7 separate regions of the Homo sapiens genome follow, and all the other regions are linked to region 5. The links are contacts of gene promoters, found by promoter capture Hi-C in blood cells and fetal thymus (Javierre and others, 2016). All regions are on one chromosome and are shown on one strand. Each heading gives the region's core, a stretch centred on a gene start or on the middle of the fragment in contact. The rest is flanking DNA. Distances are from core to core; before and after follow the strand shown. Region 1 overlaps TMEM266 (transmembrane protein 266). Region 2 has its middle 86 kb from the start of HMG20A. Region 3 overlaps ETFA (electron transfer flavoprotein subunit alpha). Region 4 has its middle 87 kb from the start of LINGO1. Region 5 holds the start of SCAPER (S-phase cyclin A associated protein in the ER). Region 6 overlaps ETFA (electron transfer flavoprotein subunit alpha). Region 7 has its middle 100 kb from the start of ETFA.

Region 1 (3,667 bases), core at 328-2,827, 710 kb after region 5:
AGCATGCAGAGACTCAGAAACCGTACAGAACATTTACAGAACTAAAGGTTGTTCCATTCCTCTAGAATGAAAGGCAAGCTGGGGTGGAAGGAGATAAGGCTGGGGAAGCAGCCCGGGGCAAGATCGTCAGGGGTCTTATGTGCCTGCCCCCTCTTAAGGGTTGAATGGGTACCCCCTCTTCATTCACATGTTGAAGCCGTAACCCCTAGTACCTCAGAATGTGGTCTTACTTGGAAAGAAAGCGGTTGCAGATGTCATTAGTTAAGATGAGGTCCTTATATGACTGGGGCCCTTATAAAAAAGGGAAATCTAGACCCAGACATGTGCATAGAGAGGACGCCATGTGCAGATGAAGGCAGAGCAGGGTGATGCTACTGTAAGCCATGGATGCCAAGGATTGCCAGCCGCCACCAGGAGCCAGAGGGAGGCGTGGGACAGATTCTCACTCCCAGCCCCCAGAGGGAAGCAACCGTGCCCAACCTTGATCTCAGGTTCCAGCCCCCAGCACTGTGAGACAATACACTTCTCTAGTTTGTGCTAGCCAGTCTGTGGCATTTTGTTATGGTAGTCCTAGCAAACTAATCCACCAGCCTAAGGGGCGTGGGCTTTCTCCTGAGGGACACAGGGAACCAGGAAAGGTGGAAGTCGGGGAGTGGCATGAAAGATTTTGGAACAATCACGGTATGGTGGGGGAGGGGAGACTGCAGAGGGCAGGGAGCTGGGCAAGGTCCAGACATAACAAAGGCTGAACGATGAAGATGAAGAAGGGGGCTGTTTCAACTAATCAGGAATTGGCGATGGGTTGTGAATCAGGACCTACCAAGCCCTGGAGTAAAGGCAGGAATCAAACAAGCTACAGCTGGACGCTGATGATTGTGAAGTTCTGCACGAGGCTACAAAAAGCCTGTTGCCCAAGGCTGGGCTGCTGGGACACGTGGCTCAGCTGAGCTGTGTGGGGAGCACGTGAGGCTGGGTCAGCTATGAGCTCAGCCAAGTGGTCCCCACAAACTCAGGAGCCTACTGGCTGCATCGTGGGGACCTGGGTCCAGAAAAAAAAAAGCAGTAGTGGCCACCTCAACATTCTGCCCTGGGCTTGCAGCGCCCCAGTAATTGCATTCAGTTGTGGATATTACTCTGAGAGGGACCAAAACGCTGGAGAGCTCTGGGAGGAGGCAGTACATCAAGAACTTGGAGAGCACGTCCCCGAAGATTGGCTGTGGGAATGCAGGTGATGGTCCCTGGAGGAGAAACAATCTCTAAACAGTCTCAGCTGGGATGGCACTGCCTGTGCGTGAAACCCACAGCTGGTGGGGAGGCAGGGGCAGGGGACCAGGCCTCAGTGCAGTCTGAGGAAGAATCTTCTTACAGGCAGAGCCATGTGGAGGTGGGGTGGGTTCCCCAGGGAGGTATGAAGCACTTAGAGGAGGGCGAGCTGAGGCTGCATGGCTCATGGCAGAGAGTTATAGAGGGGATTCTCACATCAGCTGAAGGGCTGGACCCAGAAATCCCCTCTAGCCCCCAAATCCTATGTTTCTAAGATCTGAAGATCTCTCAAAAGAGTGGCTGGACACAGTGGCTCATGCCTATAAACCTAGCACTTTCCATGGCTGAGGCAGGAGGATCCACTTGAGGCCAAGACTTTGAGACCAGCCTGGGCAACATAGCAAGACCCCACCTCTACAAAAATAAAAACATTAATTGGGTGAGATGGTGTACACCTATGATCCCAGCTACTCAGGAGGCTGAGGTGGGAGGATCACTTGAGCCCAGGAGTCTGAGGTGGCAGTGAACTATTATGATACCACTGCACTCCAGGAGTGAGACCCTGTCTCCAAAAAAAAAGCAACCATTCGTTTCCCAAAAGCTGTTTGCAGTGTTGCAGTGCCTTACAGCCCTCAGAGCTTTCTCACACCCATCGGTTCCTCGTAAGTCCTGTGAGGCAGACAGAGCTGGAGTTAAGAGTCCATTTTACAGAAGGGAACACTGAAGCCTCCAGTCATGGAGCTGAGGAGTGGCAGAGGCTGGAGCTCAGGCCTCTTGCCTCCCCAGCTGCTCAGCCTGCCCGGCTGCGTCCTCACTGCCCTGCAGGGGACACGGCATGCCAAGGCAGAGTGGCTCCTGGATGAAGCTGGGGTTTTGGGTCCCACAGCCCGAGTTCCCAGCCCAGTACCACCATTTCCTGGCTTGGGTGGCCCCGTGCAATTCCCGAAACCTCTGAGCCTCGCAGCAGCCCTGTGAGGAAGCCTCAGTACTGCTCCTACTTGACAGCTGGCAAAACTAAGGCCCCAAGAGAGTCCCATCACATAACTGGCTGACAGAAGAGTTGGGATTTGAATCTCGAAATAACTCCCTTCCATACAGGACCCTACCCTGGGCTATCGCTCGTGTTCCCATCTCCACCAACATCACCGTCTCGTGAATTCTCACCGTCTGCAAGGCTCAAGCTCTGGGCTACTGTGGCCCCGGGCCTGGACTTGTTTGGGCCCCAGTAGGTGGTAGTCCAGTAGGAAGCCCCAGACCTCTGTCTGGAAGCCTGGCTCTGCCACTTATTAGCGATGCGCCTTTGGACGGCTTTCCTGGGTCTCGGTTTCTTCAGCCATACAACAGAAAAGTCACACCTCCTCCTCCGGCTACCGCGAGGACAGGGAAGACACCACACACAACGCACGCCAGTGGCCACAGGCATGAAATGGGGACGAGTCATTTCTAGTTTGGGTCGGTGGCTGGACTACATGCTCTCTCCTGGGCTCTGACAGGCAGTACCGAGGCTACTGATCTGAGCGTGTCCCCCAATCACGAGTGAAGGAGGGGCACACACCTGAAAGGAACCCCATCCACTCTGCGCACAGTCCCGGGGCGCGAGAGGGAGGCGAGGGGGATCCCCGGCCGTGACACTCTGGGGCCGGGTGGAGACCCGGGCTTACCTTGCGAGGGCTGCAGCTCCTCCACGACGCTCTCGGCCGCCGTCTCCTCGTCCCACGTGCCGGCCTCCAACACTTTGAAGCGGCTGCGCGGCTGGCTGAGCACGTGCGGGGCCTGGAGCGCCGCTTCGCGCTCGGCAGCCAGGTCCAGGTCCTGCTGCGCCAGGTGCGCGCGCAGCTGCCGGATCTCAAACTGCGGAGGGAGACGGGCAAGGCTGAATCAGCGGCGAGGGGCCGGCGGGGGCCTCCAGCCTGACCTCTGGGCGCTTTGCTCCTGCATGGGGGCGGGGTGGGGAGGACTGGGCTGAGCCTCCCGCAGCTGGATGATTCCTTAGGAATCTCCCAGCATCGCGGTTCGCAAGAGCTTCTTACGGTTGCGGAGCCTTTTCCAACCTGTGCGATCCTGCGTCTCAGGTGCCTTGCAGTCTGGCCCCCATCTCACGGATGCCCGGGAGAGGAAACACAACGTGTTTCCTTTGTGGAAAGGCCACTGGACGGGGAGTCAGGAGCCCTGGGTGCAAATTCAGTTCTAGCTCTTCGCCCAGATGTGTGACCCCAAGGGGTGCTCGACAACATGAAAGCCTCTTTCAGAACAGGAAACCTCAGGACACCCAGGGCCCCCGTCCCAGCCTGGGGGACCCCATCCTGGCGTCACTGCCCGCTGGTCTGAACACTGGCTCGTTTTCTCCACGAGGAGGCACCCAGGACCAGACCGATTCAGTCCAAGCCGTGTGGCTTCCTGGCCC
Region 2 (3,696 bases), core at 1,099-3,598, 600 kb before region 5:
GAAAAAGGATCAAGTATCCCCCACTTACCATGTGCAAATCAAAATAAAGCTAGTCCTAAACCACAGAATAAGAGTCAGGAAGTCTTACAGCATTCTGGGGTTTCCCATTGAGTCTGCAATGATTTTTAAAAATGGATAATTTCTCCAAAACTTCTCATTTGGGGCGTGCCCTGCTTTGCTGGTGCCAAAGCATATACGTGGCCTGCCAAGTGACCCGTCCAGCCCTGGCTTGGTGCCACTACCTCTTAGGGACTTCAGTGTGGATTCCTGGGCACAAGGTCTCAGAGGTGCAGAAAGACCCTCACCCCAGGGGTGGGGTTCAGCAGGCCTGGATTTGAACAGGCCCCCACCACTGACCAGCCGCGTACACTTGGATCAGTCACTTAGTCTTTCCAAGCTTCAGCTTCCTTGTCTGAATGAATGGGCTCACACTCACTATTCATAGAGCTGAGCATGAGGGAAAATGAAATCTGACATGCAAAGGGCCTAGCACGGGATCTGGTGTACAGTGGGTGCTCAGGAAGCAACTATTACCTGCAAGAAGCAACGAAGGGAGTTGGCGGGTCCTTAGCTTCTGCTCTGACAGCAGAACCCGAGCAGCCATATGAGACAAGCAGGTGCTGAGTAGGCGGGAAGGGGCAGTGGCTGGACCTGGGAGTTGGGGTCTTTCCCACACCTGACTTAGCTGGACGGTTCAGGCTTAGTTCTCAGCCTAAGATGGGCCCTCTGTCCTAGGACCTCCCCGTCCCTCCTCCCAACCTCACTGAGCAGATTAGTCAGGAAGTGTGCACAATGTGCTCATTGTTATTAGAGGAAAACAAAAATAGCCTTGGCCTGGAGACTGTGTGCGTAGGGCTTGGGTGCAGCGGGCTACTTGCTTCTTTAGGGAGGCTTTTTTTCAAGGGAAGCTCAGACTCACAGAGGTGTGCTTGGGGTGGGCCCCCCCAAAGACAAGACCTCCCCAACCTGCCCCTCTCTTGCTCTCCAGACCTACGCTCAGCACCGCCCCCCCACAACATGCTTTCCATCCTCATGTCTCCTCCAACCCCCTATCTTTACCCACCCCTGTGCCTTCACTCCCAACAGTCAGCTGTCTCTGTTGGAGAATGGCCCTGAGCTGCCAGAACCACTCTGCCCGCACCTGTGAAGAACAGGAAATACCTGGACATTTTTGTGCTCCATTTGGGGAGGGCAAGGAAGTAAAACTGCCCCTGCCCGCTTGCCCCTGATTGGGGCACCTCTAAAGTGTCCCCACAGCTCCCTGGAGTATGAGACACGCAGCCCTTCGCGTGGCTTGGCTTGATGCCACACCCTGGCTTGGCTTCTTTCTCTTTGCTTGCGTCCCACTTCCTTGTCCCTCTACTGTCTTTCCCACTTAGATTTCTCCCTAAGAAATCATTTTCACATAAATCTAGACTCAGTTTTCCTCAGGGGAACCTCAGCTAAGATATTCTCCAACCTCAGGACCAGGCACAGCGGAGGGAGGCACCTGGAGAGACCTGTCCTTTGACTGCTTCTGGGAGGGGTGTGGGGGGTGTGTGTACATGCACCTGCCTACACTCTGCCTTTTACAGTGGGGAGCAGGGAAGAGGAAGGAAGAAGCCTGTATTACTCAGAGCCCTCCAGGGAAACAGAACCAACATGATGCACGGAGAGATTTGTTATAAGGAATTGGCTCACAGGATTATGGGGGCTGAGGAGTCCACACCCAGAAAAGCTGATGGTGTGAGTTCCAGTGTGAGTCTGGGAGCAGGAAGAGATTGACATCCCAGCTTGAAGACAGTCAGGCAGAGAGGAAATTCTTTCTTACTCAGGCGTTTATTCTGTTCGAACCTTCAACTGATTGGATGGAGCCCACCCACATGAAGGAGGGCCCTGTGCTTTACTCAGTCTACGGATTCAAGTGTTAATTTCATCCAGAAACAGGCATGGTGGCCTAGTCAAGTGGACACATAGCATGAACCACACCAGGGCTGCCCAGGCCTTTGCCTCTGCAGTGTGGTGTGGAGGCGCTGGCCGACCTTCCTTCTCTTCATCACATCCCCACTGGCATAAGGGGCACTGAAACGCCTACAAGGGCCATGGCTGGAATGCAAGGACATTTCCTGTTTCCACAGATGGCTCCCTCCAGGGTCTGGGAGCCTCTGCCTTTGGCTGGAACAGGTCACACCCATTCCGCAGGCGTGAAAACCGGAACGTGGGCTGGGCGCAGTGTGGCAGGCAGGAGTCTCAGAGGCGGAGCTCTGTCTTTTGGCGGCCCTGGCTCAAATCCTTGGCTTCCTTCCCAGAACCCCCACTTTGGGAGGAAGAGAAAAATAAATTGTGTTCTAGGTGCTCAGCAACAAAGGCAAAGTGGCTGAGCAGTGGTAATGAATAGCAAGAACAGGGAGTCAAGAGGGCAGCCGCACACTCCAGGTCTGTCTTGGTGCAGAGACAATAAACACAATCACCCTGCGGGGAGAACGCACTGCCTCCGGAGCAGGCAAGGGGCATCGGCGGCTTCATCGTGAACCAGCAACTGGTGGAGAGGGAGGGGAGTGCACAGGGGAGGACTGCCCATTAAAGACACCCTGATCCTAATGCGAGGCCCCGTGACCTTCTGAAACCTTCTCTAGCTTTTCCCAGAGACGGCTTGGCTGGGATCGGGGTGGGATATGGATGAGATCACTAGATAAAATAGAGGATGCCCAGTTAAAGTTGAACTTTTCATGGGACATACTTACTTATATTAAAAAATTATTTGTTGTTTATCTGAAATTCAAATTTAACTGGGTGTCCTGTATTAATTAATTAAAGGGTTTTTTTTTTTTTTTTTTGCTAACTCTACCAACCCTAGGTGGGGGGGTAGAAATCCTACATGGGAAAAGTGGTTGAAGAAACTCAGGTAGTTTATCCCAGCAGCTGGCAGACTCTGGGCACCGGCTCCCAATTCCAGAAGGGCTGTCCTGGGAGAGTTAGACTAGAAGATGGAATGGTTGCATTTTGAAATAGCAGCTACCTGGTCTGTTCAAGAAGAGAGTGGTATGGCAGAAGGAAGACACAGCTCAGGGCTGCAGATCTGGCTCTGCCATCTACTCCCGGGAGCCCCTGAGCTTGCACACCGGTGAATCACAGGTGTTCTGCATGGACATGCCCTCCGGCCCTGCAGCCCTGTAGCCCTGCAGCCCACATCAGCCTGGTTTATATCCTTGCATGCATCACATTTCTCTAGCTGGTGAACTGTGATAGGAGCAGCAGATCAAGGGCTCAGCTGCCTTTCCTCCTTCCTCCAGGCCCCAGGTTGCACTGTATTTCTTGAACATGCGGAGAAGCAGGTGCTGGCTGGTGAGGATGCAGAAGCCAGTGTGTCCTGCTGGTTCTCCTGCATGGGAGGCGTAGGGTGTGGGAGCAGAGAGGGTGAGGCAGAGCCCTATGATCAAGGCCATCGGGCTCAGCATGCTGTCCCTACACGACCTTGCCAGGGTCTTGCTCTGTCCAGCTGGGCATCTGGTGACTGGGCCATCCTGAGTCCCCTGACTGAAGAAGATGTCCTAGGAAAGATGTGTCTGAGCTGCATCAGCTCTGGGAAGCTGCCCAAGCTGAGGCTGAGGCCCTTTACCTCGAACCTGGAAATCTCTGCCTGCTTCAGCCTTGTCGATGAGGCAAAGCCTCAGAGTGGACGTCCCAACTCATGCATTGCTGGCCAGGACGTGCAGC
Region 3 (3,379 bases), core at 699-3,198, 670 kb after region 5:
CAGCCAAAAACCTAATCATCCACCAGAGAACACTAGCCATGTTGAATCCACAGGTTGGTTAGATTTCTGTAAAAGTCTGAAGATTTCATTCCAATCATCCCTCTAATTCTCAGACATGCAGTTTTATCATTAAGCCAGGACCATTAAAACCTGCTTTAAAAGCTTGTTTTGTCTAAAGGACTTAAGGGAGCAGGAACAGATGGGGATAGATGGCAAAAGTGGGCCCCTGTTTGTCAGAAGGTAAAGATATTGTCCCCTAATCTGTTTTCTGCTCCTAACGGCTTTTCCACTTCTCAGTGGCAGGTAGGAAAGTGAGGGGCTGATGAGAGACTGTAGCTCTATCACACCTCTTTTCCATTTTCCTTTATTGGATTACAGATTTTTGTGACCTTGCCGTAACCTGTAATTGTTAGACTGTGAGCTTCTTGAGGACAGGGCACAGAGAATTAGTCATCTTTATATTACCTGTAAGGTACAGTAAGAATATCAACAACAGTAAAATCAGTTACCCAGTGCTGCTCAACTCTTTCCTATTATGGTACACTTAGACAGTTAGAATATTTGTACCACAGGGGATTCTGGCCACCCAGTACTTCAAGTCCACACAACTCTTTTGTACAAATTATAAAGTACTGGTGTCTCAAGTTACTTTACTGCCATCTGTTGGAAAGTTATTGTAATAAAAATGCAGGGCTATAGTGACTGTTAAGAGTGGTGCCCTCCTTCAGAGTTATTCAGTGTGCAGCCTGCTCAGCTGTACATGGTAGTCCTGAGGCTACCTCAGGAGCCCACCTGGCCACCTAGTGGGCTGAGAAAATCAATATTTGAATAAACCTCAACCCGTGAGTGACACATCAATGTGTCTTGGGAAATCTGATACTATGCTAAGGACGAGCCTCAACAGTAACCCTATAAAGCAGGAGTTCTTATAATTCCAGTGTTTTGGATGAGCAGTCTGAGGCATAGAGAGGTTACATGAATGGCCCATGGTCATGCAGCTATCAGATGGCAGAGGTGGGATTTGAATGGAGGCAATGAGGCTACAGAGCCTAGGTTCTTAACCACAGTGATACGGTAAACCTGTTAAACCGCATCAGATGCAACAGTTTCTCAGTCCTGCTGCCCTTTCTATCTCAGCCCACTGTAACTAGTTTAGACCTCAGCCCCTGAGTTCTTTGAATGAGTCTATAGGTTTTGGCAAAGGAAGAGGTATTTGTGCTTTTTTCTGCCAGTACTTGTTTGTGTTAAGGTTAAGTGCTATCCCTTCTCTATATTTCAGAATAAGCTCTGGTCCTCTTCCCATCCTGTGGCTTTACTTCTCCGCACAGCCCCTATTCTTGGCATCACAGAGTGATCAACTCAGACTGCTATCAGCCACCTGGGGTTGATCCATTCTCTTCTAAATTCTCACTCTTCTAGATTCTAAAGCCACGAGGCCTATCTCTAGGACTCTCCCTCCTTCTTTCTGTTTCTGTTGGTTCCTTTAATCCCCACCGTCCCCCACCACGCCTTGTATAACCCTTAATTGCTGTACTCCCTGGCAACATCTCTCACTTTCTCTCCAAATGGTCTTACTATCTGATTTAGAAGGAAAGTGCCTCAGGGAAGGGATTGTCTTGTTATGTTGTGAAGCAGCATCTGAAGTGCCCCATAAATTAGCATCTGTAGAGAGTTTTGTGTATACTAATTATTATTATTATTGAAATACAAAAATGCTTTCTGAACCATGAGGAATTAGACTAAGATATTAGTCTAATTGCCTGTACATGTTTTTTAAAAAGGAGGGAAAAAGCCTCTCTTCCTGAGAGAGCTATCAGAGCCTCAGAGCAGCCGCCAAAATCCCTATACTTGTTCTGGGTTATTGTTTCAGTGCTTTTATGTTTATTCAGAGGACCATGTTTGCAAGACAGTAAAATAAAGTCCTGTTGGTCATGTGGATCCATTTGGACCATTTATTGTGATCAGAAAGGTAGAAATGGCCCTGGAGCAACTGCCTTCAGTTTGTTTTGGCCCAGAATCTCTTATTTCCTTAGTGACACTTATGGTTAAAGTCAATGGAATTCATTTTTGGGGACACAGGGGGTTTTAAGTAATTTCATTTATATTATGTTTATGTTTACTGCCAGAGTGAATCAACATTTTTATTAGCATTTTATAATGCACATGGAGCTTTTAAGACTTGAATTTGCTGTAGACATGTATGACAGAAAGACTCGTTTACAGGACTACTGGTCTTTTCCAATGCTTGCTTTGAGAATATACCTAAAAGAGTGGTGTCTAGCTAAATAGCTTGCTTTAAAAATCTTTATGTTAGAATTTGTTTGCCGGGTTTTTCTGAATATGAATGTTAGTATATTTTGATTAACAGTTTAACAAATGTCCCTTTATGAATGAAATGCTAGTCAGAATAAACTGAGGTGACCTTAAAATTACCTATTGAAGGCTGGGCGCCGTGGCTCATGCCAGTAATCCCAGCACTTTGGGAGGCCGAGGTGGGTGGATCACAAGGTCAGGAGTTCGAGACCAGCCTGGCCAACATAGTGAAACCCCATCTCTACTAAAAATACAAAAATTAGCTGGGTGGGGTGGCATACACCTGTAGTCCCAGCTGCTCGGGAGGCCGAGGCGGGAGAATCGCTTGAACCTGGGAGGTGGAGGTTGCAGTGAGCCAAGACTGTGCCATTGCACTCCAGCCTGGGTGACAGAGTGAGACTCCATCTCAAAAAAAAAAAAAAAAAAAAAAGCCTATTGAATTACTTCTAAATCTTAAATAGAAAGTAGTGGAAGAAGTTTACTACTTATGCAAGTGTCCATGTCTGAGAGACAGTATGATGTCAGGGCCTCCTTGCATTGTCCGACTATGTAGGGTCACAATTGACACACTGGATACATTGAAGGTAGAATCACAGAGCATGCAATTGCTTTTTATCCTCATCCATACTTTCTGCAGCATTCCTCCCCACCCTAAGACACAGTCTTATTACGCCAAATTGTTCTTGTCTTCAGGCTTTTGGTAACTATAGAACAAGTTGATTCAAAAAACAAGCTCATCTCATTTTTAGATGATTAACTCACTTTGGGGACTAGATTGTTTCCTTTTCCAGGTTACATGGTGCTGCTCTAGGAGCAGTTGGACACTTTATGCTTGTAAAGATCAGGGAGTACTGCAGGGGGCTAGACAGTTGTCAGATTCAGGCTGCCAAAGAGCTGAGGGATCACTTATTGTAGTGGTTCTCCAGCTCTGGCTATACATCAGAGTATCCTGGGGAGCTTTCTTTACAAGCACCAGTGCTGGAGGTGTACCTCTTCTGTTTACAATTGGAAAAAGTGAGCCCCTGAGAGGTGAATTGACTTGTATGTGGCCATATACAATTAGGTG
Region 4 (3,480 bases), core at 339-2,838, 640 kb before region 5:
TCTTCTGTCTATGCCCAGTATGTCACAGGATGCAGTGATACAGGGACAGCAGTATACCCAGGACAGTAAATAGCTCCATCTAAAGGCAATTGTGTCCTGAGGACCCAGACAGCTCAGTAGTAACTGATGAGCTTTTGCAAGCATGTGAAGCATCTGATGCCACAGTGATGACCACAAGGACACTGCCGCTGGCTCCTTTAGGGTGGTTTTGAATCTTTTTTTTTTCTTTTCTTTTCTTTTTTTTTTTTTAGACAGAGTCTCACTCTGTTGCCCAGGCTGGAGTTCAGTGGTGCAATCATGGCTCACTGCAACCTCCACCTCCTGGACACGAGCAATCCTCTCACTTCAGCCTCCTGAGTAAGTGGGACTAGAGGCGTGCACCACCATGCCTGGCTAATTTTTGTAGAGACAGGGTTTCACCATGTTGCCCAGGCTGGTCTTGAAATCCTGGGCTCAAGTCATCCACCTTCCTTGCCCTCCCAAAGTGCTGGACTTATAGGCGTGAGCCACTGTGCCCAGTGAGTCTTTTCTCAATGGTGCCACTGAAAGTTCCAGTGTTCACATGTATGCCATGAACCCCCAAAAAGCTGAGGATTCCTGGGCATGCACATTGGAAGTGCTTTCTCTATCTTGCCTTCAGTACTCCAGGCTTGCTTCCTTGGCACTACTAAGCTCCCTCTCCTTCATCCTTACCTCAGGGGAGAAAAGGGGAAATGGAAACAGGAAGGTGTTACCTAAGAGCCTCCAGCTGGGTAGTCCTGTTTCCTTGGACTGTGACAAGGATGAGGGCTCAGACTGTGAGCAGGATCAGGGCTCAGTCTATTAGTGAGGTTGGGATTCAGTTAGAGTCTCTGACCCTCAATCTCCACACTTCTTTCCTTGTTTGACAAGGCAGGGCATGTGGTCTGGCTCACAGATTTCACTGGCCAAATTAGGCATGAATCACCAGGGTCGAATGCAGTGCCTTCTGCTCTCCCACATCGTCCTGGCTGTCTTATCTGTAGCAGTGCTTCTGGGCATGCAGTCGCCGCCTAGCTCCTTGCATGCTGATGACCTCTACCCTGAATGGCAGGGCTACAAGCTGGCTGTAGCAATTTGAGGGAGTCACCTACCTTCCTTCTCCTTCTGAATGTCCCTGTAGGCACCTTGAACTCAACCCAACAGCCTGAACACTCCCTGGAAGCCTGCTTCTCCCTGACGTTGCCAGTTTCAGCCAAAGGCACTCAGAGGTCCAACTTGACAATGGGACATTGCCCTGGAACGTGCCCCTAGGAAATCAATCCCCAAAGCCTCCCCGTCCAGTGGATCACCCCCTGCTCCCCATTTCTTCAGCCACAGGCCTGAATGTTTTTCCGCTGAGACTTAGAACAGCCACCTCAGGGGTTCCTCTGTCTCCACCATCATCCTTTCCTGCCACACTACAGTAACAGTGGCCTTTCTAAAGTGTAAGTCTAACCATGTCACTCCCTGGCTGGACCTACATGCACTCAAGGGAGAGGGCTGAGCTAAGATAGTAATTTGGGATAGATCACTTTCCAACCACGAGAGAGGTGGGCTCACCAGGGGAGGGCGCGTCAAGTGAGAAGAAAGAGAAGAGGGCTTAAGCCAAACCCTGAGATTCTTCAGGGATGGGAGGGGAGCACCCAGTCCCAAGAGGGAGCAGGGAGGAGGAAACCCAGGAGCCAGTGCCACTGCAGGAAGGAGAGAAGCTGTCAGGTAGATCCATGCCCAGACCCCCTGAACAGAGCGCTCACTTTGTTCAGCAACTTAGAGGTTGCTGGTGACCTCAGTAAGAATCGTTTTATCTGGGAGACATAAAAAACAGAGGGCAGAGGCGTGGGGAGGAAGTCAGAGACGGGGGCAGTGAATGTACACAACTCTCAGTAATTGGGACTGGGGCCAAGGTGGGAAGGAAGATCACCTGAGGCCAGGAGTTTGTGATCAGCCTGGGCAACACAGCAAGACCCCATCTCTCCAAAAATTTTTAAAAAATAACCGGGCATGGTGGTGCACATCTGTGGTCCTAGCTACTGGGGAGGCTGAGGTGGGAGGATCACTTAAGCCCAGCAGTTCAAGGCTGCAGTGAGCTGTGATCCTGTCACCGTACTCCAGCCTGGGTAACAGAGGGAGACTCTGTCTCTGGAAAAATTAAAAAAAGAAGTGAGACTGGGACAGATCTGGCCATGGCAGAGGAGAGCCAGGGTCAAGGGAAGGTTTTATTTGGAATAAGAAGGAGCAGACCCACTCAGTCCTATATCCTTGGCCCAAGCCTGTCCTGCTCACTCTCACTACCCTACCCTTCTGGCTCTGGCTCCCAGAGATGCTACTTGCTCTTGAAAATTCTGGCTGGGGGAGGTGGGAGGGAGTGATATAGACAGACTGTCAGATTCAGAGTAGGGAGGCCCAGATACAGGGCATGGTCACCTAGATGTCAGCTGCAGATCCAGGGCAGGGGTGCTGGTATCCTGGGCCCTGCTCCCCCTCTCATTCCCCACCTTCATCGAGCTGGGGCCTTTCTTCATGGAGCTCTAAGAAGGAGAGGAGAGGCAGGAGGGAGCTGGAGGTGGGGTAGAGCACCAGGAGGCTCCGTAGGCATCTGGAGAAGTGAGGAGGGACAGAGAGGAAATATTAACTCAGTCAGGGAGCCGTCAAGGTCCAGAGTTGGGAGTCTGTGATAGTTCAGGTCCTAGGCCTGCCCCCACCTCGTCAAGTGATGCTAGGCTCTGTCCTATCATATCCGAGCCTCCGAGCCCAATCTGTGACCAGACAAGGCTAAACAAGCTGACCCCACTGGCCTTCCTGCCACGTCTTCCTGAGAGGTGAGAAGCAAGGGTCAGTCTGTGCTGCTCTGGATGGGAGTGGAGCTGGGAGCCAGGGCAGGGCAGGGCAGGGGATGACAGGCACCACTGCGCCATGTTCCAGCCCTTCTATCTGTGTGGAGGACACGGCTGTGAAATGTAAGTAAAACCCAAGTCTAATTTCCTCGGTCAGAAGGAGGAGGCACTGCAGCATTTTCAAACCCTAATTAAACCCGCTCGGGCGGTGTAACACCAAAATCAGTTCCAAGATCAATATTGCTATTCATTTAGAAGTGTAACGAGGTTAGAGAGGTGAGCAAAGGAAATAATTAACTCATTTGCAGCCTTTTTAAACAGAAACAGTCGTTTTAATCTCCAGGGTAATTAGCTATGCTCTGTCCATCAATCATGACCTCAGCCATTATTTTAAGTATTTGATTAATCAAGGAGGAAAGGGGTTAAGCCACCCCTCCAAGCCCCCAACATTGGCCCACGTATTGGGGATGACCCCTGGGCAGGCACTAGAAACACTTCTCCGGGCGGGGGGCAGTCTAGGCCAGCATTGAGAGTGGCCAGCAGGGAAGGGCTACAGCACAGAGGGTGTCCCAGGTGAGACACGTGGGCAGGTGGGGAACAGCTCCCTCTCCTGGCTGGTCTCCTGCGAGAGGACAAGCCCTCCCTG
Region 5 (3,310 bases), core at 50-2,549:
TATTGTGTTTACTATTTCTTGTGTTAAAAGCAAAATATTAGCCAAATTAAACAGAGTTTGAGCAAAGAATTATTCCCGAATCAGGCAGCCTCCTGAGCCAGAGTAGGTTCATACAGACTCCCGCAGAGCCACATGGTGGAAAAAGGTTTATAGACAGAGAAAGAAAAGTGAGGTAGGGAAACAGCCAGAATGGTTATAGCTAGACGTTTACCTTATTTGAACACGGTTTGAACAGTTGGCCGTCTTTGGCCAAAACTTGGTGATTGGCGCAAGAGTAGGTTGCAGTGTATTTACACCTCCATTTAGGTTATAGTTTACTATTTACGGAGAAACCTTCAGGCTGAACTTAAAATATGTAAGGACACAGCTTTTGGCTAAACTTGATGTAACACTTGCCTGGTTTCACCCTGCTCCAAGAAGCCGGAGGTTTTTTAGAGATTTCTGTTTATTTTGCTCACGTATTAACTCCAAGCATCTAGAATACCATCTGATATATAGTATGTGGTCAATAAACATTTGCTGAATAAATGAAAAAGCGAGTTTTCTAAGAAGGCAAGAGAGAAGGGGAGCCAGAACATAGCCATATGGTTCCTGCCCCCACAACGCTTGTGAGTCCAGGACTTCCCGCCTACTGCGGGTGGGGAGGGAGAGGGAAGGGTAAAGAGCTGTTTCCCAGCTGGATGAAAAGGGACGGTGAATATTCGTTTGATAATTACAGTCTGCATTGAATCTTTTTTCTATTTTGTTCAGACTGATTTAAACGTTAAAGTATTTAATTCATCATATGTTTGTCTTTGAAGTAGATGAAACGTATTTGTTAGGTCTCTGTACTTCGACCTTCCAAGCCTGGCACACAGAAGGGCCCTGATAAAGCTTCTCGGAGGCCTAGTTGTGTTCAGCGCAGCCCAGCGTGCTCCTGTCAAGTGCTTTCGCCAGCACAGATTTCTGTGAGGCGCGTCTCTAAGTCCTTAATCTGTGGATTGACTGTGGTGATAAGGCAGGAGGAGGGAAGAGATTGAGTACGAGAAAGACCTGTGTGGCCAAAAGCGGCGGTGTAAGCTTAACCTAGGAAAAGAAACAGCTTCGGAAACGCCGCGCCGGGACATCGAACCAAATCAACCCTCACACCTCCCGCCTGGGCGCCCCAACGGCGCGAACGGGCGTGCGCCTGCGCGCGGACAACACAGATCTTGCAGCCGGGAGCGGCGCGGCAGCGGCTGAGATCACGTGGTGCGCCGGGAAGCCACCCCGCCTCTCCGAGGCCTCCCTGCCCCGCCCCGTCACGCCCCTTTCCCGGCGGGACGCTTTGAGCCGCCCCGAACTAAGCAGGGCGGTCGGGGGTGAGTGTCCGCGAGGGGCGTGCGTAGCGCAGACCCGGGCGGGTCCGGGTTGGGGCGCGGGCCGTCTGAATGCCTTGCGGGGACCAGGGGACAAAATGGCGGCGGGGTACGCCCTTTCACCCCCTCCCCTCACCTGGGAGTGCGAGTTGAGCGGGGCAGGGATCGTTGCTGGGGGAGGGGAGCCGCGGTCGCCTGGGGAGGGCTCGGAGGTCGGCCTCGGAGGCCTCGGGACGGGGGCTGGGGTGAGCCGCGTCCGGGCCCTGCCCTGCGGGCTCATCTGGGGTGTGAGGGACGTGAGACCCCGCACACTACGCGGTCTGAGGGGTGAGTGGGGGGCTGCCGCGTCACCTCACTTGGGGGCAGCCCCGGCCGCGGGTGACGAGGCTTCTGGAATGTCTAAATGCGAGGGGCCCCTGGAGGAGCCTCCCTTCGTTTGACAGGTGATCGTCTTCGTCATCTGTCATTCCCAGCGGGGTTTACCATGCTTTCCCTGTACTCTGATCTTAGCTCTGCCCAGGAAACGGGGCAGGAATGGCCTCTCCGTCTTCCAGATGCGTGCGCTGAGGCCTGGAGGGGCGAAGAGCCTCTCGCACCTGGGAGTAGTGGGACCCAGCCTCCTGCCTCTGTTGCTGCTCTTTTCCAAAACAGCACTTCCTTGGCGCCTTTCCTCTACACCGTTTTCCAGGCGCGTTCGTGGGAACGGCACCAGGGAGGAACGGGATTGTTAGAAAGCAGGCACAAAACTGGTCCTGTAAGCAACACCTGCTGCTGTTAAGGGGGCCCCAGCTGAGATGAGGCCGCCTGTTTGTGAGCAGCTTCCTGTTGCTGGTGGACTGCATCTCTTATTCTAGTTGTGACAAGTTATTTTCCATGAAAATAGCTATTCATTAATAGTCATTTTACCGAACAGATACTAATTCCTTATATGAATTATAGTTTGTCTTAGTTTATGGATTAATTTCATCATTAACTTTTCATCTTCATAAATAATCTGGTAGAAGGATGGATGGGCTAGGAGTAATACTTATTTTATGAATGGAGAAACGGGGGCTCAAAAGGTTATTACTTGCCTTAGATCACCAGCTGGTGAGTGGTAAATCTGGGGTTAAGTTTTCTGACCTAAGGTTGGTAGTCTGACCACTGTCCCACTCTGGCCTATACTGGTGCTCTTTCCCTTCTGTTATTTCTGTTAACTATGACTTTTCCTCAAAGTTTGTTGGTTGCAGATGATTTATGCCACTTGAAGAATGATATCCACTAAAGAATTAATATTTTTAATCAATCAAAGAGTCAAGTTTTAATGTGATTTGGAAGGTTGTCTGTGGGAGAAGTAATCTGATGGCTTTGAAGGCAGACTGTTTTGAGTTTGAATCTCAGCCCCAACCCTTGTTTTTGGCAAATTAATTTTTCTGAGCCTTTCTTATCTGTAAAGTAGGAATAATATCCACCTCATAATTTTGTTGATAGTAATAAATTAGGTGTCTGTAAAGTATTGAGAACTGTTCCTAGCCCATGGTAAGCCCTCAACAAATGCTCTTTTCCTTCTTTCTCCACACTCCCTTGAGCTGCATTAAAAATATACTCTATGTGTCTTTGGTCCATTTGGGTCTGGTATAGCAAAATACCTCAGACTGAGTGGCTTATAAACAACAGAAATTCATTTCTTGCAGTTTTGGAGGCTGGGAAGTCCTAGATCAAGATGTCTGATGATTCAGTGTTTGGTGATAGCCTGCTTTCTGGTTAATAGATGGCACCCTCTAGCTGTCTCCTTACATGGTGCAAGGGTGAAGGGGTCTCTCTCTGGCCTCTTATAAGGGAATTTATCCCATTCATTAAGGTTCTGCTTTCATAATACAGTCATCTCCCAAAGGCCCCACCTCCTGATATGACCTTGGAAACTAGGATTTCCACAAGAATTTTGAAGAACACAAACATGCAGACCATAGCATTATGGTTAATCACTTGGTTGT
Region 6 (3,539 bases), core at 470-2,969, 620 kb after region 5:
GAATTCGTCAGTGGATTTTTCTTGCTCTCTCTCTGTGGCCGTGGGTGTTATCTTAGCTCTCTTTTCTTTTGTTCCATTCTTAATAAGGTGTCATTTTTAGTCTTTATTTTTACTTTCTTTTTTTTGAGATGGAGTCTCACTGTCGCCCAGGTTGGAGTGCAGTGGCGCCATCTCGGCTCACTGCAGGCTCCGCCCCCCGGGGTTCACGCCATTCTCCTGCCTCAGCCTCCCGAGTAGCTGGGACTACAGGCGCCCGCCAGCTCGCCCGGCTAATTTTTTGTATTTTTAGTAGAGACGGGGTTTCACTGTGTTAGCCAGGATGGTCTTGATCTCCTGACCTCGTGATCCGCCCGCCTCGGCCCCCCAAAGTACTGGGATTACAGGCGTGAGCCACCGCGCCTGGCCTACTTTTTTTTTTTTTTTTTTTCGAGATGGAGTCTTACTTTCCTCGCCCAGGCTGGAGTGCAGCAGCACAATCTCAGCTCACTGCAACCTCTACCTCCTGGGTTCAAGCCATTCTCCTGCCTCAGCCTCCCGTGTGTAGCTGGGATTATAGGTGCGTGCCACCACACCTGGCTAATTTTTGTATGTTTAGTAGAGACAGGGTTTCGCCGTGTTGACCAGGCTGGTCTCGAACTCCTGACCTCAGGTGATCTGCCTGCTTCAGCCTAGCTCTGTTGCCCAGACTGGAGTGCAGTGGCACGATTGTAGCTCAACATACCCTCCAACTTGTGGGCTCAAACGATCCTCCTATCCTAGCCTTCTGAGTAGCTAGGACTACAGGTACATGCCACCATGCCCAGCTAATTTTCAAATTTTTTGTATCGATGTAGTCTCCCTATGTTGTGCGGGCTTGTCTTAAACTCCTGGCCTCAAGTCATCCTCTCATTTCAGCCTCCCAAAGTGCTAGGATTACAGACATAAGTCACTGTGCTTAGCCTATTTTCACTTTTAAAAATTGTAAAATAAGTTGTACACAAATACATCCTTATTAGGAAGACTGCGTGTAGTACAGCAGTGTGCAGAGCAAGGTGTCAAAGTCCTGCTTTCTTATTCCCAACTCACCCTCCCCTCTTTAGAAGTATAGCTGTTAACAATTGTACATTCTTTTAGGCCTCCTTCTATGGATTTTTAAATTACAGTACATGTACAGCTATATATTTTTTACTTCTAAAATGGGATAATATGGCATGAATTGTTTTGTGAATAGTAGCTTTTACTTAAGAGTATGACTTGGGCAGGGTGCGGTGGCTGACGCCTGTAATCCCAGCACTTTGGGAGGATTGTCTGAGCCCAGGAGTTGTAGCCCAGCCTGGGCAATACAGTGAGATCTCATCTCTACAAAAAAATGAAAAAAAAAAATTAGCTGAGTGTGGTGGTGCATGCCTGTGGTCCCAGCTACTTGGGAGGCTGAAGTGGGAGAATTGCTTGAGCCTGGAAGGTTGAGGCTGCAATGAGCTGAGATTACACTGCTGCACTCCAGCCTGTGCTCCAGGGTGACAGAGCAACACCCTGTCTCAAAAAAAAAAAAAAAAAAAAAGAGTAGCGACTTTGGCTCATAATGTTTCTCTTTTTTTATGGCTGCATAAGATTCCATGTTTAGCTAAGGACAGTTAACTTGGTTCCAGTTTTTTGCATTTATATACTTTACTGCAAGAAAACATGGTCATGCATGTATCTGTGTAAACATGGGCTGGAATTTATTTACAATAGAGTTCTAGAGGTGAAATCACTGAGTCAAATGCTATGTAGTTTAAAAATTTTGATACCTATTACTTAATTGTCAACACTTGGTAGTATACATTTTAACATTTTTTCCTCCAGTCTGATGGGTGAAATAATCTTTGTGGACCGTTCTGTCTCTGAGAGTTTTGATTATATATTGGATGATTTAAATAATTTCATGAGCCTTGAGTTTCCTTCTATGATGACAGTTCACCTAACAGAGTGTTAGACCATGAAAGGGTGTTTGTCATTAGCTAGATTTTAGTACTCTGGCCATGATTGCTATGTTGTAACAGATGGGAGTTTTGAGAATAAGGGTCACATAATAGTAGCTGGTCGTGCGGCCTGTAAATGGGTTTGGAATGAGAAACGTCTATCAGAAGAAGCCAAACAATTTGCTGTATGATAGTCCTTCACCAGCTGTGGTTTTGAGATAACACACTTTTATACTTGTCTGCTAGAATTTTAAAATATGTCATTTTTTATGCACAAAAAGAACTCAATTATTGCTTCTTCTTCCCAGAAACCATGCAGGCAGCTTGTTGGATGGGATATATTTTTAATAGGATAGATATCTGTGTACCATCCACCCTCATGATGTTTAGATAGAAGACCAGATCCAGGAAAACATACTTTTAAGTACCATGGTAAAATTTCTTGAAGATATGTTAAACAAGGGATAATGAAAATACAAAAGACATTAAATTTTGAGCAATTTAGAAAGTTCTAAAACTTTTAAAAGAGGCAAAGTCTGTATAACATAAAATTTGTAAGATAATCTGTTCAGCCAAGTAACTATTCCAGTAATAATTCCTGAACAGTTAAAGAAGGTGGTTCAGGAGGAGGATTACTTACTGAAGCTAGCTTTAAATACTGACAAATCTGGTTTTTAAACCAGATTAAGTAGGTGCTTCAGAATGGGCATGGTGGCTCATGTCTGTAATCCCAGCACTTTGGGGTGCCAAGGCAGGAGGATCAGCTGAGGCCAGGAATTCGAGACCAGCCTGGACAACAACGCAAGACCCCGCTTCTACAGAAAAAAACAAAACATAAACCAAAAAATGAGCTGGACGCAGTAGCGTGCGCCTGTAGTCCCAGCTACTCAGGAGGCCAAGGCAGAATAATCTCTTGAGCCCAGGAGTTCAAGGTTACAGTGAGCTATGATCACACCACTGCAAGTTCAGCCTGGGTAACAGAATGAGACCCTGTTTCCAAAAAAAAAAAAAAAGAAGAAGAAGAAGAAGAATTAACTGAGACTTGGGGAACTGTGACTTTCCCAAGGATTCCTGCTGCTGAGGACAAAGTTAGCACATGCATCTATTTCAGTACAAGCACAAGAACACACCTTTATTTTATTTTTGTTGCTTTTTAAATATGTACTACACAGGCTGTTCTTCAGGTTAGTGTTATTCTTTTCCTTTTTTTTTTTTTTCTTTTGAGGCAGAGTCTCGCTCTGTCACCAAGGCTGGAGTGTGGTGGTACTATCTCAGCTCACTGCAACCTCCGCCTCCCAGGTTCAAGCAATTCTCATTCTCATGCCTCAGCCTCCTGAGTAGCTGGGACTACAGGCATACACCACCATCCCCGGCTAATTTTTTGTATTTTTAGTAGAGATGGTGTTTCACCATGTTGGCCACATTGGTCTCAAACTCCTGGCCTCAGGTGATCCTCAGCCTCCCAAAGTGCTGGGATTACAGGTGTCAGCCACTGTACCTGGCCTTACTCTTTTTTTTATACAATATCAATTTAAACAAAAGGTGAAATGTCTGCTGTGAATTTTTTTCTTTTATATACATTAAGTAAATGTATACAAG
Region 7 (3,688 bases), core at 410-2,909, 700 kb after region 5:
CCTTCCCAGCGTGGGCTGCATAGGGGACATTTGGGTCTGGGACCTGGAGACCACTGGGTGGACTGGTCAACAGGAGCCTTGGGTTCTCATCCTGTTCCTGTTACTGCCCCAGAGGCACCCTGGTCACCTTCCCTCCTTTCAGGTTTCATTTTAATCATCTGTAAAATGGCGATGTGAACTAGGTGATCTTTCTAGATAACAAGCTTTAACCTATGAGTGTATTGGTGGGTGTCATACGAGGTGAGTAGATGGAGACAGTGAATACTGTTTTTGAGGGCTTCTTATGCCCAAGATGCTGTGCTGAGCCCTTTACATACGTTATCTCATTTACGTCTCATAACCTCACAAGGTGTAGGTTTGACCTGGGGCAAACTGCCTCTTCTCCTGAGATTCTGATTTCTTGAATGTTTCCTACTCTTTCCCCCACTGATGGGGTGACATACATGAAAGTGCTATATAAGCCAAGGATTATCAGCAACTCTTCTTCAGATGAGAAAACTAAAGCCTACAGAGCTTAAAACACTTGCCCAAGGACGCATGGCTAGTAAATGGTGACCACAGGCCAGTCTGCTCCCAACCACATGCCATATCCCAAGTGCCTCAATGGGAGTGCAGAGGATGGACCTAATCTAGCCTGACTAGGGTGGGCTGCAGTGCAGGGCAGCAAGATATGAAGGCCTCACCAAGTTCAGAAGGGGCAGCAAAATCAACCAGATGAAGAAGTGCATTCCAGGCAGAAGGCCAGCATGGACAAAGAACAGGATTACCCAGGAACATGACACACTGAGCTGCTTTCTCTGGAAAATGCAAGGTCTAGACTCTGATGCATGAGTCCCCTTCTAGCCGGACACTCCTCCATTCTGAACCACTCTTTGCTCAGGGAAGCAGGGGTCTTTGTACTGCAATCTGGATCCAGTCTGCTCATTGGCCTTTTGTGGTATTTAGCACGGTGCAGGTCCCAGAACCCCCTATCGCTTCTTTAATCAGTGGAGGCGGAGGTGAGCATACCTAGTTATGAGGCCTAATTGATGTTGGGGAGGTTCCTAGAGTGCTCGGTGAAGGGTGACCCATAAATCTCAGACACTGAAGAATTCTGCCACATCCATCACAGTGTTTAATGTCCTGATTGATCTCCAGGGTAGTCAATTTCATTTGCTTGTTTCAGGATGAAGAGGCAGCCTGCTTCCCTATGTTGCAGCCTGGGGCTCTGCATAAAATTATGCCAGCCCTGTCTCCTGGTAGCTTGCAATAAATTTTAGCAGCAAATGTTTCATCATTTTCCTTGGATAATTAACTATTCACCAGGAGATAATACCAAACTTTTCAGCAGTGGAGTCAAAGATATTCAGAATAGTGATGAATTCCTCACTTAGTTAATGTGAGGGAAATACAAGTTTTTGGCAAGTACTCCAGTAGTACTCCAATAGTACTGACCAAAGGGAGAGGAAGGAAGATAAGGTGCCTCCTGTCTGGGGGATAACAGTGCTCTCTTACCTCACTCAGAGTGAATACAGGCATGGAACAAATGAGTATGTGCGAGCAGGGATGCACTCAGGAGAGGAGCAGGCAGTGGCTGGACTGGCTGTTATGACTAGGGGCGGGGCTCACTGCCACCCTCCCACACCAGACTATCAGCAGCAGCAAGAGCGTCTCCTGGGCAGCTGACCCCAAAAGTGCTGAGCATGTGCTGGCAGTAAAACACCCCAGGCTTCTCATTAATAAGGATGCTTTCTGTTTGTGTCTCCCCTGAAACATTCTCAAAGGGTTTTCCCTTCTGTTACATCATTAGCTATCCCAGCAGCCTTCAGGGTGGGAGGCACAAGATCATTCCTGTTGTACATGGGGAGGAAGCAGGTCTAAGGATTTGCTTGGAGCCTCATAGCAAACCAGAAACAGGGCTGGGCTGAGAATCCAGTCTCTGCCACATCCCGTGCATAGGTACAGTGGCACCTGAGGTAGGAGGCATGGGAGAGAGTGGGATGAACAGACCTCTCTCCAGCCCTGAGATGTCCATGGTTTGGCTGTTTCAGCCCCCAGAGTTGTTGGGGGTCCTTGTGAAGCAACTCCACACAGGTGTTGAGTGGGGCACAGGGTACTGTCAGCTTGTTAGTAAGAGGGATTCCTTGGGCCCAGATAATTTGTCAGCAGCTCCAAGAGTGGGACCCCAACTCTGTCTTCTCTCTTTAGAGGTAACTGAATAGCACCAGGGAGGAGCGTGGCGGCAGCACCAAGGCGGAAGCCATGCTCTTTTGACTCTGGCTTCCGTCAAGAGCTGTCTTGGAAGGAGAAAGGAGCTCCTGAGTTGAATTTCAGGTGGACACCCACCATGCTAAATAGAATTCCAAGCCACTAGCCTCTAGCCACACAGGTTCCATCCCAACACTCCTGTCTGTGGGACTTGATCTGAAAAGCCACACTTTGGTTGGGAACCTTGCCCAGGGCTGGCTGGAGAGGGGCCTGTTGTGCCACTCAGGGAAGGCCTTATGGTTCCCTCATCCTGGGTGGGCTTCAGGCTGGGGCTGCAGACTCTGGCCCAGCTCCCTGGTGGGCCAGTCACCAGCACTGCTGGCTCTGAGTCCTGATTTCTTACTTTGGCTTTCCTGGTGGCACCTGGTTTGATTCTGGACAGCTCATTTCACATCTAGCATGGCATATAATCCAGCCAGACCTGGGTTTGAATCCTGCCACTACAGCTCACTAGTTAGCTGTGTGCCCTTGGGCAAGCCCCTGAATGAGTCATTCCATGGCTGCTGTTTTCTCCTCTGTAAAGCAGGGAAGATAGCGCCCACTTTCCAGGGCTGTGCTAAGGAGGGAAGCCTGTGAAGAGCACCTGTCACAACAGGAAATGCAGACGTGGGAGTCACTATTGTTACCACCCTCTTGTTCTAGCAGGAGACAGTGGCTGTTACCAGACCCTCCCTTCAGGGACAGCCCGATGACTCCTCTGGGCCACCAGAGTGGGTTCTCCAAAAGGGTGCAGGAGAACGGGGAGCCATTTCCCAGAGCTGCAAACCTCCCAGGGAGTGCTCAGGCTCCATCTCCCTCAGCCCCCAGCTGCCCGCCAGCCATAACTGTAGGATATGGTGCCCAGGGGAGCCATGAAAGGCGAAGCTTTTACCTCCATCTCCTGCACTTCAGGCCCCCAGGCCCCACCCTAGGACTTGCTGTGGGATGGGCTGGAGGAAGGGCTCTGGAGTCTGCAGAAAGGACTGCCATGTTCCTGGCTCTGGCATCCTTCTCTGTGCTCTTGGTGCCAGGCACAGCCATCCTGATGTCTCATGCTCAGACACCACAGACTGGAAATGGTGGCATCTCCTCCTCATCAGTTCCCCCAAGTCCCATCAGTCAGGTGTCCCCAGCGTCTCCTCCACCACCGCTGCCTTCATCTTGCCTGCCCATGTGCAGCCTTGTTCCCTCTCCTCTGGGCACGGGCCCCTCCCTCTGGCTGCTCCTCTGCAACTACCAGAAGACTCTGTGGTAGCCCTTCCATAGCGCTTTATCTCTAGGGAGAACATCTGGCTTGGCCTGGCATCCAAGGCCTCTGGTGAGCAGCCTCACCTGTCCTTTTCCAGGTTGCTCTCATGTGGTCCCTTCCCCCTCCTACCCATTCCATCCTCTTCCTGACACCAAACTTCTCCCTGTTCCCAAACCCTGCCTAGCTCACTGCTGTTCCTCTGCTTGCACTGTT

What was found. The method cuts DNA at HindIII sites, captures the fragments that hold promoters and counts their contacts. A CHiCAGO score of 5 or more calls a contact.
Region 1: a contact is called between a fragment that was not itself captured here and the fragment with the promoter of SCAPER in region 5, in 7 of 17 cell types (megakaryocytes, endothelial precursors, erythroblasts and 4 more). The highest score is 9.8, in megakaryocytes.
Region 2: a contact is called between a fragment that was not itself captured here and the fragment with the promoter of SCAPER in region 5, in 1 of 17 cell types (naive B cells). The highest score is 6.6, in naive B cells.
Region 3: a contact is called between a fragment that was not itself captured here and the fragment with the promoter of SCAPER in region 5, in 10 of 17 cell types (M1 macrophages, fetal thymus, megakaryocytes and 7 more). The highest score is 9.7, in M1 macrophages.
Region 4: a fragment that was not itself captured here is called in contact with the fragment with the promoter of SCAPER in region 5 in 6 of 17 cell types (total B cells, naive B cells, naive CD4 T cells and 3 more); the score reaches 8.7 in total B cells.
Region 6: a contact is called between a fragment that was not itself captured here and the fragment with the promoter of SCAPER in region 5, in 2 of 17 cell types (total CD4 T cells and M2 macrophages). The highest score is 6.4, in total CD4 T cells.
Region 7: a fragment that was not itself captured here is called in contact with the fragment with the promoter of SCAPER in region 5 in 3 of 17 cell types (erythroblasts, megakaryocytes and endothelial precursors); the score reaches 6.9 in erythroblasts.

The regions. Positions count from the first base shown.
Region 1 is chr15:76,191,415-76,195,081 of GRCh38, reverse strand. It overlaps TMEM266 (transmembrane protein 266), which reads right to left. Exons shown (of 11, transcript NM_152335.5): 9 at 2,925-3,114. Among named protein-coding and RNA genes, the nearest start is that of ETFA, 120 kb to the left of the region's middle. The HindIII fragment of the contact is 4,829 bases long and covers 1-3,667 here.
Region 2 is chr15:77,505,194-77,508,889 of GRCh38, reverse strand. It overlaps a transcript of HMG20A not described here. Among named protein-coding and RNA genes, the nearest start is that of HMG20A, 86 kb to the right of the region's middle. RefSeq lists an enhancer at 385-1,361. The HindIII fragment of the contact is 3,898 bases long and covers 400-3,696 here.
Region 3 is chr15:76,232,690-76,236,068 of GRCh38, reverse strand. All of the region lies in intron 9 of ETFA (electron transfer flavoprotein subunit alpha), which reads left to right. Among named protein-coding and RNA genes, the nearest start is that of ETFA, 77 kb to the left of the region's middle. RefSeq lists an enhancer at 1,066-1,755. The HindIII fragment of the contact is 3,567 bases long and covers 165-3,379 here.
Region 4 is chr15:77,543,696-77,547,175 of GRCh38, reverse strand. No RefSeq gene overlaps it. Among named protein-coding and RNA genes, the nearest start is that of LINGO1, 87 kb to the left of the region's middle. RefSeq lists a silencer at 3,276-3,480. The HindIII fragment of the contact is 4,566 bases long and covers 1-3,480 here.
Region 5 is chr15:76,903,329-76,906,638 of GRCh38, reverse strand. SCAPER (S-phase cyclin A associated protein in the ER) reads left to right here and starts at 1,299. Exons shown (of 32, transcript NM_020843.4): 1 at 1,299-1,340. RefSeq lists an enhancer at 953-1,453 and silencers at 1,194-1,503, 1,514-1,623, 1,644-1,723. The HindIII fragment of the contact is 6,645 bases long and covers 1,062-3,310 here.
Region 6 is chr15:76,288,335-76,291,873 of GRCh38, reverse strand. All of the region lies in intron 4 of ETFA (electron transfer flavoprotein subunit alpha), which reads left to right. Among named protein-coding and RNA genes, the nearest start is that of ETFA, 21 kb to the left of the region's middle. The HindIII fragment of the contact is 6,746 bases long and covers 1-3,539 here.
Region 7 is chr15:76,208,030-76,211,717 of GRCh38, reverse strand. No RefSeq gene overlaps it. Among named protein-coding and RNA genes, the nearest start is that of ETFA, 100 kb to the left of the region's middle. The HindIII fragment of the contact is 2,908 bases long and covers 206-3,113 here.